Linked DNA regions of Homo sapiens: region 1 is linked to region 2. Evidence: promoter capture Hi-C in 16 types of primary human blood cells and fetal thymus (Javierre and others, 2016). All regions are on one chromosome and are shown on one strand. Each heading gives the region's core, a stretch centred on a gene start or on the middle of the fragment in contact. The rest is flanking DNA. Distances are from core to core; before and after follow the strand shown.

Region 1 (7,298 bases), core at 2,956-5,455, 4.3 Mb after region 2:
AGGCAACCACCACCAAGCCTGGCTATTTTTTATATTTTTAGTAGAGGCAGGGTTTCACCATATTGGCAAGGCTGGTCTCAAACTCCTGACCTCAAATGATCCACCCACCTTGGTCTCCCAAAGTGTTGGGATCACAGGTGTGAGCCACTGCACCCAGCCTAGACTTCCTTTAAATGTCAAAATTTTATGACAGCCACATGATAAACTTTTATACTCTCTTTAACCTTTGATCAAGAGGTAGCATATTGAGGTGGTTAAGAGTAGGAGATCTGGATTTAGCATGCCTTCGTTCAAATCCTAGCACTTCTCAATGATGTTTCCTTAGATCTCAATTAGAAATAATGCCAGAACTATCTACATTTGTGTAGTTTTAAATTTCACTTTCTCTCGCTATTTGCTTATTAACTTTTCTTCTTTTTTTATCAAGTAAACATTTTACTTTGGGTTCCTTTTAGATTTACCAGAAAGTTGCACATAAGTGCAGATCAGTATCCATCTAATCATTTTCCATCTGATCAGTTACAGAGATCTCTGCAGAAATGAAGAGCTGGCAGCCTACCTTCTGGGGCTTCTTATTGTTGTTTGCTTGTGTATTTGCTTAGCAACTGGCTGGATCAATTTAGTGAAGTCTATTTCCCTCCTATACTGTTAAGCCTTTGATATTGCTCCTCAGGAATCCAAAGCTCCAGCTTTGGATATGCCCACCTTTATCCTGGGATGACAGTGGTTTTGGTAGGGATCTCTTTCTTTCTATGACTGCACACAGCTGTTAAACTCCAGTAATTGTTAGCTGATTGCTCTATTGTTTTTTAACAATGCCCTGGGCATAAATTGTCTTACAAACTACTTCAATTCTTGCTCCATTGAAGGAGTAGTTTTTGAGGTTTTCTTTCATATTTCTTGTGACTCCAGTGTAGCTACTCCTAATTGTCTTATATCCCCATTGTCTTCTGCAAGTGAACAGGCCTGCAATTTAGCTTGTATCTTGAATGTCTTCCTAATTACTTTCACTAAAACCTACACTGTTCCTGAGAGTGCCCTTAGGTTTGAACTTCTCTCCACCCCCTCTCCCCCAGACGGAGTCTCGCTCTGTCACCTAGGCTGTACCACAGTGGCGTGGACTCAGCTCACTGCAACCTCCACCTCCTGAGTTCAAGCGATTCTCCTGCCTCAGCCTCCCAAGTAGCTGAGATTACAGGCATGTGCCACCATGCCCAGCTAATTTTTGTTTTGTATTTTTAGTAGAGAGACGGGGTTTCACCATGTTGGTCAGGCCGGTCTCAAACTCCTGACCTCAAATGATCTACCTGCCTCGGCCTCCCAAAGTGCTGGGATTACATCATGAGCCACCACACCTAGACAGGTTTGAACTTCTCTATGCTTTGTTGCAAATGAATTCAGCTCCTTTGGGAAGAGATTAGGAGTTATCTGTTTATGGGCTGATTCTTCCTTTAGGCAAAATCTCAGAGCCTGGGGACTTGAGTTGGGGATGGGGATAATGGCAGTCTTGTCTCTGAGTGATACCCTTTGTAGTTGCTGAGCATTTTGTGGGGAAGGTGGGGAGTGTAGCAGCCCACCTTCTAGACTTTCCTTTCCTTGTGCAGAACCACTGCCTAATGAGTTGGGGCAAGGGTGATCAGGGCCCCAGTGTTCTTAGCATGCAGTTGCAAGATGAGGGCTGTGTGGGAGAAGGGAGAGCCCTCACCTCTCAACCACACTTGTCTGGGACTTTATCTGAGCATCAGGTAGCTAGCTGGAGACACAATGATACACTGACATCCTGCTACTCTGTGGAGGAACCCCTTGCAATTAGGAGCTGGAGGGATCCCTGTGTTCTTGGCTGCTGCAATCTACAGTGGAGTGTTTGCCTTGCTGAGATGGGAGGGAGACAGCAATCTTGTTTCAAATAACACAGGATCAACTTTCTTGATGAATTTTCATGAATGTTCTTGAACAGATGTTTCTTGGTTTGCTGTTTGTCTTTGGGAACATTTCCAGAGGCTTTAATTTTCTTTTCTTTTCTTTCTTTCTTTTTTTTTTTTTTTTTTTTTGAGATGGAGTCTCACTCTGTCTCCCAGGCTGGAGTGCAGTGGCGTGATCTCGGCTCACTGCAAGCTCCGCCTCCTGGGTTCACGCCATTCTCCTGCCTCAGCCTCCTGGGTAGCTGGGACTACAGGCGCCTGCCACCATGCCTGGCTAATTTTTTGTATCTTTAGTAGAGACGGGGTTTCACCGTGTTAGCCAGGGTGGTCTCGATCTCCTGACCTCGTGATCCGCCCGCTTCGGCCTCCCAAAGTACTGGGATTACAGGTGTGAGCCACCGTGCCCGGCCAACTTTCTTTTTTTAAATTTCACCAGTTTCACTGGGGAGTGGGTCAGTGGAATTCCTCATAATGTCATGTCAGAAGTCAATCTCTGAACTCTTTTTTAACAGAATTATTCTGCCCGCTAGGTTGAGAAAAGATGAGAGTGGGGGAGAAAGAGAAGCAGAAAGACTATTGTAATAACACAATAAAGAGATATTGCTGGCTTGGTTCTACACTGTGGCAGTGGATTTGGCAAGAAGTTGTTGGATTGTGGGTATATTTTGAAATTAGAGCCAAAGCTTTGCTGAGATTGGATACGAAGAGTGAGAAAGAACAGGGTCAGGGATGACTATATGGTTTTTGGCCTAAGCAACTGGAAAGATGGAGTTAACGGAGATGTAGAAACACATTTGGGCTAGAGGTGGGGTGATCAGGAGCTCAATTTTGGACACATTAAATTTGATTCATTGCCCACTGCATATCCAGTTAGAGATATCAAATAGGTAATAAGTTGTAAGAGTGTGGAGCTCGGCTGGGCGTGGTGGCTCACGCCTGTAATCCCAGCACTTTGGGAGGCCGAGGCGGGTGGATCATGAGGTCAGGAGATGGAGACCATCCTGGCTAACAAAGTGAAACCCCGTCTCCACTAAAAATACAAAAAATTCTCAGGGCGTGGTGGCAGGCCCCTGTAGTCCCAGCTACTCCGGAGGCTGAGGCAGGAGAATGGCATGAGCCCGGGAGGTGGAGCTTGCAGTGAGCGGAGATTGCGCCACTGCACTCCAGCCTGGGCAACAGAGCGAGACTCCATCTCAAAAAAAAAAAAAAAAAAAAAGGAGTGTGGAGCTCAGGACAGCAGTCCAGGAAGGTTTAAATTTGTGAATCATCAATTTGTACCTAGTATTTAAAAACAGGCCAGGCATGGTGGCTCACTACTGTAATCCCAGCACTTTGGGAGGCCAACGCGGGCAGATCACAAAGTCAGGAGATCAAGACCATCCTGGCCAACATGGTGAAACACCGTCTCTACTAAAATACAAAAAATTAGCCAGGCGTGGTGGTGCACCCTGTAGTCCCAGCTACTTGGGAGGCTGAGGGCAGGGGAATTGCTTGAATCTGGGAGGTGGAGGTTGCAGTGAGCCAAGATCGTGGCACTGCACTCCAGCCTGGTGACAGAGCAAGACTCCGTCTCAAAAAAAAAAGAAAAGAAAAGAAAAAAAAAACCACTGATGCAAGATTTTTTGCTCCTTAGCTCAGCTAAAATCCAAGTTCGTGTTGCATGACCAGGAAAAATCAGGCACGCGGACACATCGAAAGATGAGGAGAGTGGAATTTATTAAAAGGAAGCTCTCAGTGAAAAAAAGTGTGATACACCAGCTGAAGAGGCCAGGCTTCTCCCCCTGCATAAGGTGCAAATTCCCAGTGGCTCCACTCCATTCTCCCAGGGCGCATGTGGGCCTTTAGTCTGAGCCACTCCACATTGATTTATTTTCCTTACTGCGCATGTGTTAAGGGACAGAATTTTTCAGTGACCCGGCAGGCGTTTGGCTGTCTCCTGTCTCTATCATTCCCCACTCTAAAGAAGTACATCTAACTGCCCTTAGAATAAAGATAAGGACAAAGACCAATCTTAACTGCTTCCTGCTGACAGGGGGTGCTGTGTTGGGAAAATGGCAGTCAGATTTCCCTAAGAGGCCAATCTAAAGGTTCCTGGCAAAAGGGACCATTATCTGAGGCTCCAGTTGCACGACTGGAGTTTGATGACCTGAAGGCGAGAAGAGACAAACTGAGTTATTAGAAAACATGTATCAAAACAAAACAAGGATGGGGTAAGGACAGAAGTCATGCCAGAAGTCATGCTCGAAAATCCCGAGGCCTTTTACTGGTTTGCACAGGGAGAGGGAGGCCAAAAGCCTGATTGTTAAAAGTTAAAAAAAATTTTTACCCTTTTGCTGGCTTGTCAGTCTTCGAGGTTCCCTTCCCCCAAGCCCAGTCCTAAGCTATTCTCAAGTTTAAGGTTTGGGAAATTAACTTTTCGCAGTTTAGAGGATGGATCCAAGGGGAGTGTGCTGTAGTAAGGAGACACAATTACCTATCTGTGAAGAGAGGACACAAGGGGAAAAGGAAAAAAGAAGGTGTTTTTTTCAAAGGAGTCCCAGGGGTTCAGGATGTATTCAAAAAGGCCACAGACTGAAGATGAATGGCAATCCATCAAGAAAGAGGGGAGCAGGTGTCCCTGGTTCCTTTCTCTTCCTAGTGAATACCCAGGGTAGGTGAGGGAGGGAGAAAGTGACGTGCCCCTTTTCATTTCTTCTGTCCTTATATCCCCAAGACCTGGGTGATCATCAAAGGGTGCCACCCATGAATGTCAAAGCGGCTTTCCCCCATGTTAACAGGGCTTACCCACGTACGCCCTATCTCCCCTGCTGTCAGTAGCCTTCAAGTTCTCTAGACCTCATTTATGTCGTGGATACTAGCATGATGTTTATCCATGAAACAGGAGGCTTGGCTTAATCGGCAGGAGTTAGTCATGCTCACCTGTGCTGTGCTTTTTAACTTCTGTTACCGTCTGCTTCTGGATCCCTCAGATCCAGTTTTTTTTTTCTTAGGGCTTTGACCTGAAGTTGGGAATTGAGTTTGGGACCAAAAATATGTCTCAGGGGTTGTATGGACTCCTTATCATAAGCTGAATGCTAAGGTGAAGCTGTGAAAGGGGTCCTCCTCCAAGGGAAAGAAAAGGATGCCCTGTGACACACCCAGATAACTGGTGGCTATAGTTATGTTTGCTAAGATTTGGGTGCATGGAGCTTGGCTTTGGTTAGCTCCCTTGGTCTTACTTTCCCAAAAAGGAAACCTCTGGATGACAGGCACTGTATTTATTCCCACCACCTAGCAGGATTTGCAGGATAATTGCTTAGAACTAGAATATTGATTCAGATTTTTACATTACCCATCCCCCTTTGTTCCTTCTGGGCTGTAGTTGGAGATCTCTGGTTGGATCACAGGCATAAGCAGGGTTAGTTTTTAAACGAACTAGGCAAAAAACTTGAAAACAACTAGTGGGTCTAGAATTTAATGATGATAAGTTTTTAAACATAATTTATCTCTCTCCAGTCCTCAGTTTTCTTAAAAACAAACCATGATAGGACTGAGTTGTTTGCAAAATAGACTTTGGTCTTATACTTGGCTTGATTCTTTGCATGAAGTGCAGCAAGAATACTTATTTTTACAGAGGGCTTTTAGATTGGCTTTGATGGAACTCTATTCCACAAGGAATCTCAGATAGGACTTTCTAAAGCTGAACCCAGCTGTGGGTTTTTACCCTCAAATACCTGTGAGTTGGGTAAACTCCTCTCTTCTTGAGGTCCCAAGAGCATAGGGTTCCTGGGCCTGTTAAAAAGTGACACTTCTTACTCACCGCAGATTAGGAACCCTGTACAGGGACTGTGTAGGCAAGGTATGAGGCCAGTTTTCCCAAGGAGCTTTTATCAGTTCTGCAAGTCAAGCTTGACTCCTTAAAAGGAAGCATACCCTTCCAGTCAAAGGCCTTGGTAAAACAACTAGTGTCTTCAGTTGTGTCCTGTTGCAAAGAAAATGGAATCTTATTGCACTGATGCAAACAAATATATTGTCATAAGTTAAGTATACTCACAACTAGTTTCCAAATTCTGGAGAAGCCAGGCAGAGAGAGAGAGACAAACATGCTCCAAATTTTGTTCACAGGAGTATACCTTACTCAATTATTAAAGGCTGTAAATAGTTCAAAATAAGTTTCCTTCACTCTGAAAAACAAAGCAAGGATTGGCAATGGTCCAAGCGAAAGTCAAAAAGATTACTTCAGTTTTGTATTCATTAAGTCCATCCAGTTAACTCTTGTTTTGCTTGATATTCATGAACATTTCAGCTCTTCATGAGTCCTGTTTGTTTTTTCTTTATTCTAATGTCTCAATCTCCAAAGTTATCAGAAACCTGCATTTGAGAGCACCTATGAAAGTTCTATGGCTGATTATAAACCATCTTTTGAAGAGGATGAAAACAAGACAACAATTGTCTGTGAATAACAAAATGTCCAGGGTAGTTAGAGTCAGAAACAGAATTGACAAATAAATTTGGTTATCTCTGTGGTTTATAATAACTTAACATAACAACCTTAATTGTGATTGATAGCATATACTCATGATGGGGCCCTAAGATAATTTCTGATGGCCTGGGACTCCTCGGAAAAAACAGAAAAGGCACCACAGATTCCATTTTTATGGCCAGACACTAGAATTTTAGGAATCCTTTACAATTTTGGAACATATATTAATATTATTCCCTAAAATATAACCTGAAGAAGATTAAACATTATTTTGGCAATCCCATGTACCTAAACATGTCAGGTAATCCTGTTTACCTCTCTTCTGGATGTGTCAGGGGCCCTCTGTAGCATCCAAAAGCCAGGTGTCAGGAAAGACAATTTTGAAACTGAAGTTTGATTTTGGGAAGCCTGTTGAATATGTTAGAGGTTTAAAACATTTGATTTTATGAAATAGAATTCCAGATTACCGTAAGTTATTTATTTTGTCAAAATGATGACTCAGAAATTTTAAAAAGCAAAAACCTTTTATAACCCTTTACAGATTTAGCTAAAGAGCAGATTGGTGCCTTAAGAGAACCTTGTTGTGCTTTTATTTCAATGCTCAATTTATGGAAAAGCCATATAATACCCTTTTGAATTTAATCAGTATGTTCACACAAGGAATTTTTTTTTGCAAGATCAATTTTTACAATCCTTCCACTACTTGTTTACACATTTAGCTTTATCTTATCTAATTCAAAACAGTCCTTTAACCCTAGGCAAAAATGTACATTTTGATGACATCTGCATTTTACCAATAATTTTTAAGGCTGTTTTTATTTCTCAAAGATTAAAGTCATGTGAACTAAAAGGTACCACAGCTCTTCTTTCCTTTAAAAAATATTTGATCTAAGTGCTTATTTTCCTTTAGGCCA
Region 2 (7,071 bases), core at 1-2,500:
ACCTAAGTCACTTTAACACAGAGATACAGCTTCAATTTACAAGCAGCCAGTTGCAAAGCTTCAGAAAAGGTTTTCAAAAAAACAGGACAATGGGTCCACTCTGCAGTCTAGGCCTGATGTTGACCCTTTTTCACAGTCCTGCTTTGTTTTGAGGCTATTAAAACCCTGCTTCATTTAAGTTCCATCTAAACTTTACACTTCCTCAAAATCCTGTAACTTTATATTTTCCTTCCCCTGGTAAAATGTCCCATGGTGTCTCTGGTGTGCAATCTCCCTCATTAAAAAAGATCGATAGACCTGGTTTTGCTGACTACAGGTTTGTCCCTGGTGGTCTTAGGCTGACTGGGCTTGAACAGTCTTGCTCAGCTTCAGGGTTCCTAAGATTGCAAATTTCAAAAACTGATACAACAAACATTTTTTCACTCCTAAATACAAATGCACCTGTCCACGTTGCCAGGTAGTTATGCACATGGCTACCATGTCAATTTGGTCATAACTAGGGTTAGGTCACTTCTCTGGAAGGTTAGTTATTAAGAACAAGAAAGAAAGTCAGGGTTCTGCACAGCTTTTGGTTTGATTCTTGTACTGACTTATGTTTCTTTTTCTTTGGGGCTACAGGTAAATATTTTGTCTGCTAAACTGACGCCCCCATCGCCAGTGTCTGAACAAACAAAACTGAGACATATCTAGTCAGCTGAAGCTGACAAATACAGGGGCCAATCTGGTTACAGGCAGGCAGTCCTGGCCTCGTGACACCGCAGAGACTGTGGGACAAGTGGACGTGCTCCTACTGTCCCTCGCATCCCCCATCTGGGCCGCGGGACTAGTGCCCTCAGGTCTATGACCCACTGCAAGAACCCAAAGCTCGACGCCCGCCCAGCCCTTCACATCCGTCCCTTGCAACAAGCAAGAGAAGAGGGGCGCGGCTTCAGGGGACGGGCGACGGTTTACAGGACAGCTCGTACACAGTACCAGCTGACATCCCCTAAGCCTGAGTGTCTAGGCCCCTGCCTCCACATTTAAGAGCCGACTGCGCCCCTTGGTGATTGGACGTCCGGACGCACCTTGAGTAGAGGCCAAGCAAACTATCGAGCCCGTCCAAAACGCCATATTTGTAACTGACGTCATCCTCATGTTGCCTTTCCTCTCTGTGATTGAGGAACCAATCAGTTGGGTGTAGCAGACGGGGCGTGGCTCTTCAGGTAGAGGCCGAAGGGGCTGAGAGCGGTCCCAGGCGGCCATCTTGATTCCTGGCATCACTCTCAACGTGCCCTCCCTCTCCGTGATTGGACGAGCAGGGCGGGCCTTCCGGAGGCACACAGCCGACCAACCAGAGATCTGCGCGTGCTCGATCTGGTCATCTGTTTTCTGACATCTGGAGCCACTAGCAGTTATCCTGTTCATTCCTGGGCGCCTGCGACCTTCCGAAGGAAACAAGACTTGCTTGGGGAAAGTTGCCTTGCCAGTATAGTGGAGCTTGGTAGAAACTTAAAAACTGCCTGGGGCTGCCTGGGATGGGGATCTCGAGATGCTTGTGGGGAGCACATTTTAGGAAACAGGGGGCTCAAGCTGCATGAAATGCTGCGGGAAATAGGAATGAGAGACGCAGAATGGTCGGAGAAAAAAGCTAGGAAGGTGTTTGGGAGTAAGATTTTGGAGTGCCTTGAATGCCAGACTAGGGAGTTTGGACTATATCCTGTAAGATAGGGGATAAAAATCAACTTTAAACAGGAGTGATATAACAAGATAATGTACTTTAGAAAATAATTCTGTAACTGTAGGGGGAGTCCCAAAGTGTTTCTCAAATTGTGTTCGGGGAAGTTCAAAGTGTGTTTGAGAGCTTGTTTTTATATGCAGATTCTTGCCCCTCACCAGACCTGCAAATAAAGTTCTCTGGTTGTACAGCCAGGAAACTGCATTAAAAAAAAACTTTTTAGGTTAACATACATTTGGTGAGAAAACGCATAAACCATATGGATAGGGCTCTGAATTTTCACAAGCAAACACTTCAGCCAGGCGGGGTGGCCCGTGCCCCTAATCCCAGCTACTCGGGAGGCTTAGGCAGGAGAATGGCTTGAGGCCAGGAGTACCAGATCAGCCTGGGCAACATAGCAAGACCCGTCTCTAAAAAAATTTAAAACAAAAATAATAACACACTCCCGTAGTTAACACCAGATGAAGAAACAACATGGCCAGCAGCTCAGAAGCTCCCCTTTTCCCCTTTAGCCACTGCTGCCTGCACCAAAGGTAAATATGATCATTACTTATAAGAACTGTAGATTAGTTTTGCCTGTTTTGAATTTGATATAAATAAAAGCATACAGGATATATTGTGTCAGCTTATTTGTTAGTGTTATTTATGAAATTCATCCGCATTGTTCCATGTAGTTGCTGTAGACTCCGTTGCTATAGATTGTTATCACAATTTATCCAGTCTCTTGTTTATGGGCCTTTGGGTAATTTCCAGTTTGGAGATAGTAGCAAAAAAAATGCTAAAATGAACATTCTTCTTCATTCATATCTTTTGCTTTGTAAATTATAAAGCAAGACAACAAGACCTAAAGACTGATTCATTCACTACCTATTTATTGAGCCCCTTACCAGACTAAGGTGAGAAAATAAAACAGAAAAGACAGCAAAGGTCCTGCCCTCATGGAACTTATTCTAACTGGAACGAAACAACACCTACGTGGGCAGCAAAACAAGTCAAACAATTGCAATTGTGATAACTCTGAGGGAAACAAGGTGAGCTAGAAAAAGAAGGGTGGGGACTTAACCTTTTTTTATGTGGTAGCCTGGTTAACTCTCAGAAAAATATCTAGGAAAAAATACAAGAGATAAGTTGGCACTGCTACACGATGAGTATTAACAATGGGTAGACCATTCCTGGCAAGAGAGACACCATGTATAAAGGTCATGGAGGAGGAGAGAGCTTGGCCCATTCAAGACCAGTGTGGCTTCAACACAATGAAGGAGGGATGGCATAAGGTGTATCTGGGTATTAAAGCATATGATACAAGGCCAGAGTAAGAAGTTGAGATTTTATTCCAAATATTATGAAAAGCAATCGAACTGTTAAAAACAGGAAATAATGTGATCTGATTTACTTACTTAAAAGATCCCTCTAACTGCTGAGCAGAGAACAGATTAAAGACAGAATTTAGGAGGCTGCTAGAGCAGTCTCAGGGAAGATATGCTGGCATAGAGCTTAGAGGAAAGGCTTGAAATACATCTGGGAACTGTCATGGCAAAGATCATCACCTTAATCAAGTGATAAAAGGTAACACCTCTCTGCACTGGCCTGGGTAAAAATCTAAAGAATAAAATACCACCACAATATTGGGAACCCATGTGTGGTGGTGTATTCCTGTAGTCCCAACTATTCTGGAGGCTGAAGCAGAACTGCTTGAGCCCATGAGTTCAAGGCTGTAGCAGGCTACAATCAGACCTGTGAATAGCTACTGCACTCCAGCCTGGGCAACACAGCCAGACCCCATCTCTTCGAAAAAATGTATATGTGTGTGGCCAAGCACAGTGGCTCACGTTTGTAATCCTAGCACTTCTGGGAGGCTGAGGCAAGTGAATCACAAGGTCAGGAGTTCAAGACTAGCCTGGCCAAAATGGTGAAACCCTGTCTCTACTTAAAACACAAAAATTAGCCGGGCGTGGTGGCAGGCACCTGTAATCCCAGGTACTTGGGAGGATGAGGCAGAGAACTGCTTGAACCCGGGAGGCAGAGAACTGCTTGAACCTGGGAGGCAGAGGTGGCAGTGAGCCGAGATCGCACCACTGCACTCCAGCCTGGGTGACAGAGGGAGAGTCCATCTCAAAAAAAGAAAGAAAAAAAAAAGTGTTTGTGTGTGCGTATATATATAGAGAGAGAGAGAGTGAAGAGAGAGAGAATGTATTCTGATGTGATGCACCAAGGACATAGCATTTCTACCAAAAATTCACTATCTGAATCCAATGAGGAAAACTCCAACAAACCCATGTTACAAATTTAACAGTTAAATCTAAAACTATCAGTTAAAGACTAGAGACCTGATAAATAATTGCAATTTGTAATCCTCCATTAGATCAAGAGCCTGGAAAAACAATTTTTTTTCCCATTTGCTCCAAGGAACATAGGAGCAACAACTTATAAATTTGAATAAGGACTGAAGGTTAGATAATAGTACTATTGCAATATCAATTTCCTGATTTTGATAAGTGTACTGATGACATAAGAGAATCTCTCTGTTGTTAGGAAATACACATTTTAAGAACGTATAGATAGGCTGGGCATGGTGGCTCACGCCGGTAATCCCAACACTTTGGAAGGCCGAGACGAGAGGATCGTCTTCACTCAGAAGTTAGAGGCTGCAGGGAACCATGATCGCGCCACTGCACTCCAGCCTGAGCGACTGAGGGAGACCCTGTCTCTATAAAAGAATGTAACGCCAGGCACGGCGGCTCACGCCTGTAATCCCAGCACTTTAGGAAGCTGAGGGAGGCAGATCACGAGGTCAGGAGTTCGAGACCAGCCTGGCCAACATAGTGAAACCCTGTCTCTACTAAAAATGCAAAAAAATTAGCCGGCCATGGTGGCGCGCGCCTGTAGTCCCGGCTACTTGGGAGGCTGAGGCTGGAGAATCACTTGAACCCGGGAGGCGGAGGTTGCGGTGAGCCAAGCCCCCGCCACTGCACTCCAACCTGGGCAACAGACCGAGACTCCGTCTTTAAAAAAAAAAAAATGTAGCGATAGAAGGACATCATGTCGGCAATTTCCTTTCAAATGATATAGCACATGCAAAACGTTAACATTTGTGGAATCTAGAAGGGTTTGTGGGAATTATTTGTACTAGTTTAGCAATATTTCTGTAACTGTGAATTACTTGAAAATGAAAGGTTAACAAAGTTACTGAGATTAGGAGAGAACGTGAGGAGCGAACAGACCTAGCCATGAATAACCAACAAATAAAACTCGAGGAAATAAAAAGGAACTCAAATGGCATGCGACCAACGGAAGACATAGCTTCTGTACTCTTAACCCTAAATTACTAAGCGATGACCCTCCTGCAGCTTTCTAATCCAAATCACCAAAAACAATCTCGCCGCCCAACTTTGCCAAAAAGCAACTTAACGCCAGCCGACTCCGCCATGTTTTCCCAGTGAGCTTGCGAGCGCGTGCGTACGCACGCACGCACGCACGCACCAACCAATCGGTGCTCACGTCGGTGACTCGTTACCGCAGGGGCGGTGCGTTCTTCTACACATGCGCAGGGTTGGGCGGGTCTTCTTCCTTCTCGCCTAACGCCGCCAACATGGTGAGTCTTACTGTTGCGGGCTCCGGGGCCGTCGACCATGCCGCTCGACCTCCACCTCCGCTGGGAAGCTGAGGCGCCAAACGGCTCCCAGAGGGTCCCGGGAAGCGCATGGTGAGGGTCCCCGGGCCGGCTGTGCAGCGGAATCGGGCCCTTCCCGGACTCGCGCCCTTCCCGGACTCGCCGCTGGCGAGCGCGTGGAGGGCCCGGCAGGCCTGGCGCGCCTTGGGCCACGCGTGCGCGCCTCCGCCGCTGGAGCTGGATGGCTGATGCGGCTCGTGGTCCGAGAGCCTTGTCCTGCCGTGTGGGCCTTGCGGACCTGGGAGCTGGCGGGCGTTGGGAACCGGGCTTAAGCTACTGAGGCGTTTGCTGATTTCGTCCATCCAGGTTGGCGCCTGGCTCTCGGGCGTTTGTTCCCTGCAGCATTCTTTTTCGCTGAATTTAACCATGTTGTCTTTAGCTGCAGAAGGTGACATATGTAGCGAGTATTTCTAAGTAAGTTTCACTGTCCTTTCTCCTCCAATTTTAGGTGTTCAGGCGCTTCGTGGAGGTTGGCCGGGTGGCCTATGTCTCCTTTGGACCTCATGCCGGAAAATTGGTCGCGATTGTAGATGTTATTGATCAGAACAGGGTAAGTGTCACAACTTTTTACTAAACATGGCAGTGGACATGTGCCCTGCAGATGGCAATAATGAATTGTCTCGATGGCTGTGTAAGATGAGGATGCTATGGGTAGTCGCTTTATTTTACCATTGAGGAAACAGGTAATGGTACGGGTTTTAAGCACAGCCTGAAGTTAGCTATTAGTATTGAATTTCAGTATTAGCCACTTAAGCTAGAGCCAGTTATAGGCTGAAACGTTGGTTAGTTTTAAATGAGTTACTATACGTAAAGTGAGTTTAGAACAGATCCAGCACGTAGAAAGCACTTTTGTATTTACTGCTGTGTATTTGAAACAAGCAAACTAAGGAGTTGACCACTGACTATAAATCAGCAGGGATCAGAGTCCTAAAGTTGCCTGTAAATTACATGTGGTTGGTTTCTATGGGGTACTATATAGTTTAAGAAGGAGCATTTAATGATGTGGAGAAATGTTTGTGTTGAGCAAAAGACATACATATATATAACCCAGATAGGACAATCCTTGTCTTTTCTGAGCAATTTATTAAAATAGTAGTGTGGGTTTGATGGCCCTGAACGGATAAGTAATGTTACAGAACCATCTGACCATTTTAATTGCTGTTAGATTTTGCACTGAAGTTCTTGATGTTTGTGTTCTAGGCTTTGGTCGATGGACCTTGCACTCAAGTGAGGAGACAGGCCATGCCTTTCAAGTGCATGCAGCTCACTGATTTCATCCTCAAGTTTCCGCACAGGTAACTGTCCACTAATCACTCCTCCCTCCCATCCCCAGATTTGTTTATGCTAGTAAAAGTTTGTTTTGGAGTAAACAATACGGAAGATTCAGAGCCATCCTGAAGAGGGATTTGCATCATAGAAGTAGACAGGGATTATTTACTTTTAAAATGTCTTGCCTGCGCGTGATAGCTCATGCCTGTAATCCCAGTACTTTGGGAGGCCACGGTGGGAGGGTCTCTTGAGCCCAAGTTTCAAGACCAGCATGGGCAACATGGCGAAAACCCCCATCTCTACAAAAAATAAAAAAAAAATTCGTTGGGCATGGTGGCACGCGCCTGTAATCCCAGGTAGGGGGGCCTTGGGGGTGCTGAGTTGGGAGGATCGTTTTAGCGAGGTCGAGGCTGCAGAG

Evidence for each region. Contacts are between HindIII fragments. The CHiCAGO score rates a contact against its expected background, and 5 or more counts as called.
Region 1: a contact is called between a fragment that was not itself captured here and the fragment with the promoter of ENTPD3-AS1 in region 2, in 1 of 17 cell types (neutrophils). The highest score is 6.4, in neutrophils.

Annotation. Positions count from the first base shown.
Region 1 is chr3:44,764,778-44,772,075 of GRCh38, forward strand. The region is part of intron 1 of KIF15 (kinesin family member 15); the gene reads left to right. Among named protein-coding and RNA genes, the nearest start is that of KIF15, 6.6 kb to the left of the region's middle. The HindIII fragment of the contact is 3,204 bases long and covers 2,604-5,807 here.
Region 2 is chr3:40,452,058-40,459,128 of GRCh38, forward strand. It overlaps ENTPD3-AS1 (ENTPD3, EIF1B and MYRIP antisense RNA 1), which reads right to left and starts at 1,251. Exons shown (of 4, transcript NR_040100.1): 1 at 1,065-1,251. It overlaps RPL14 (ribosomal protein L14), which reads left to right and starts at 5,282. Exons shown (of 6, transcript NM_001034996.3): 1 at 5,282-5,417; 2 at 5,833-5,934; 3 at 6,585-6,679. The coding sequence starts at 5,415. RefSeq lists enhancers at 985-1,054, 1,075-1,144, 5,081-5,375 and silencers at 5,518-5,567, 6,781-7,071. The HindIII fragment of the contact is 7,917 bases long and covers 57-7,071 here.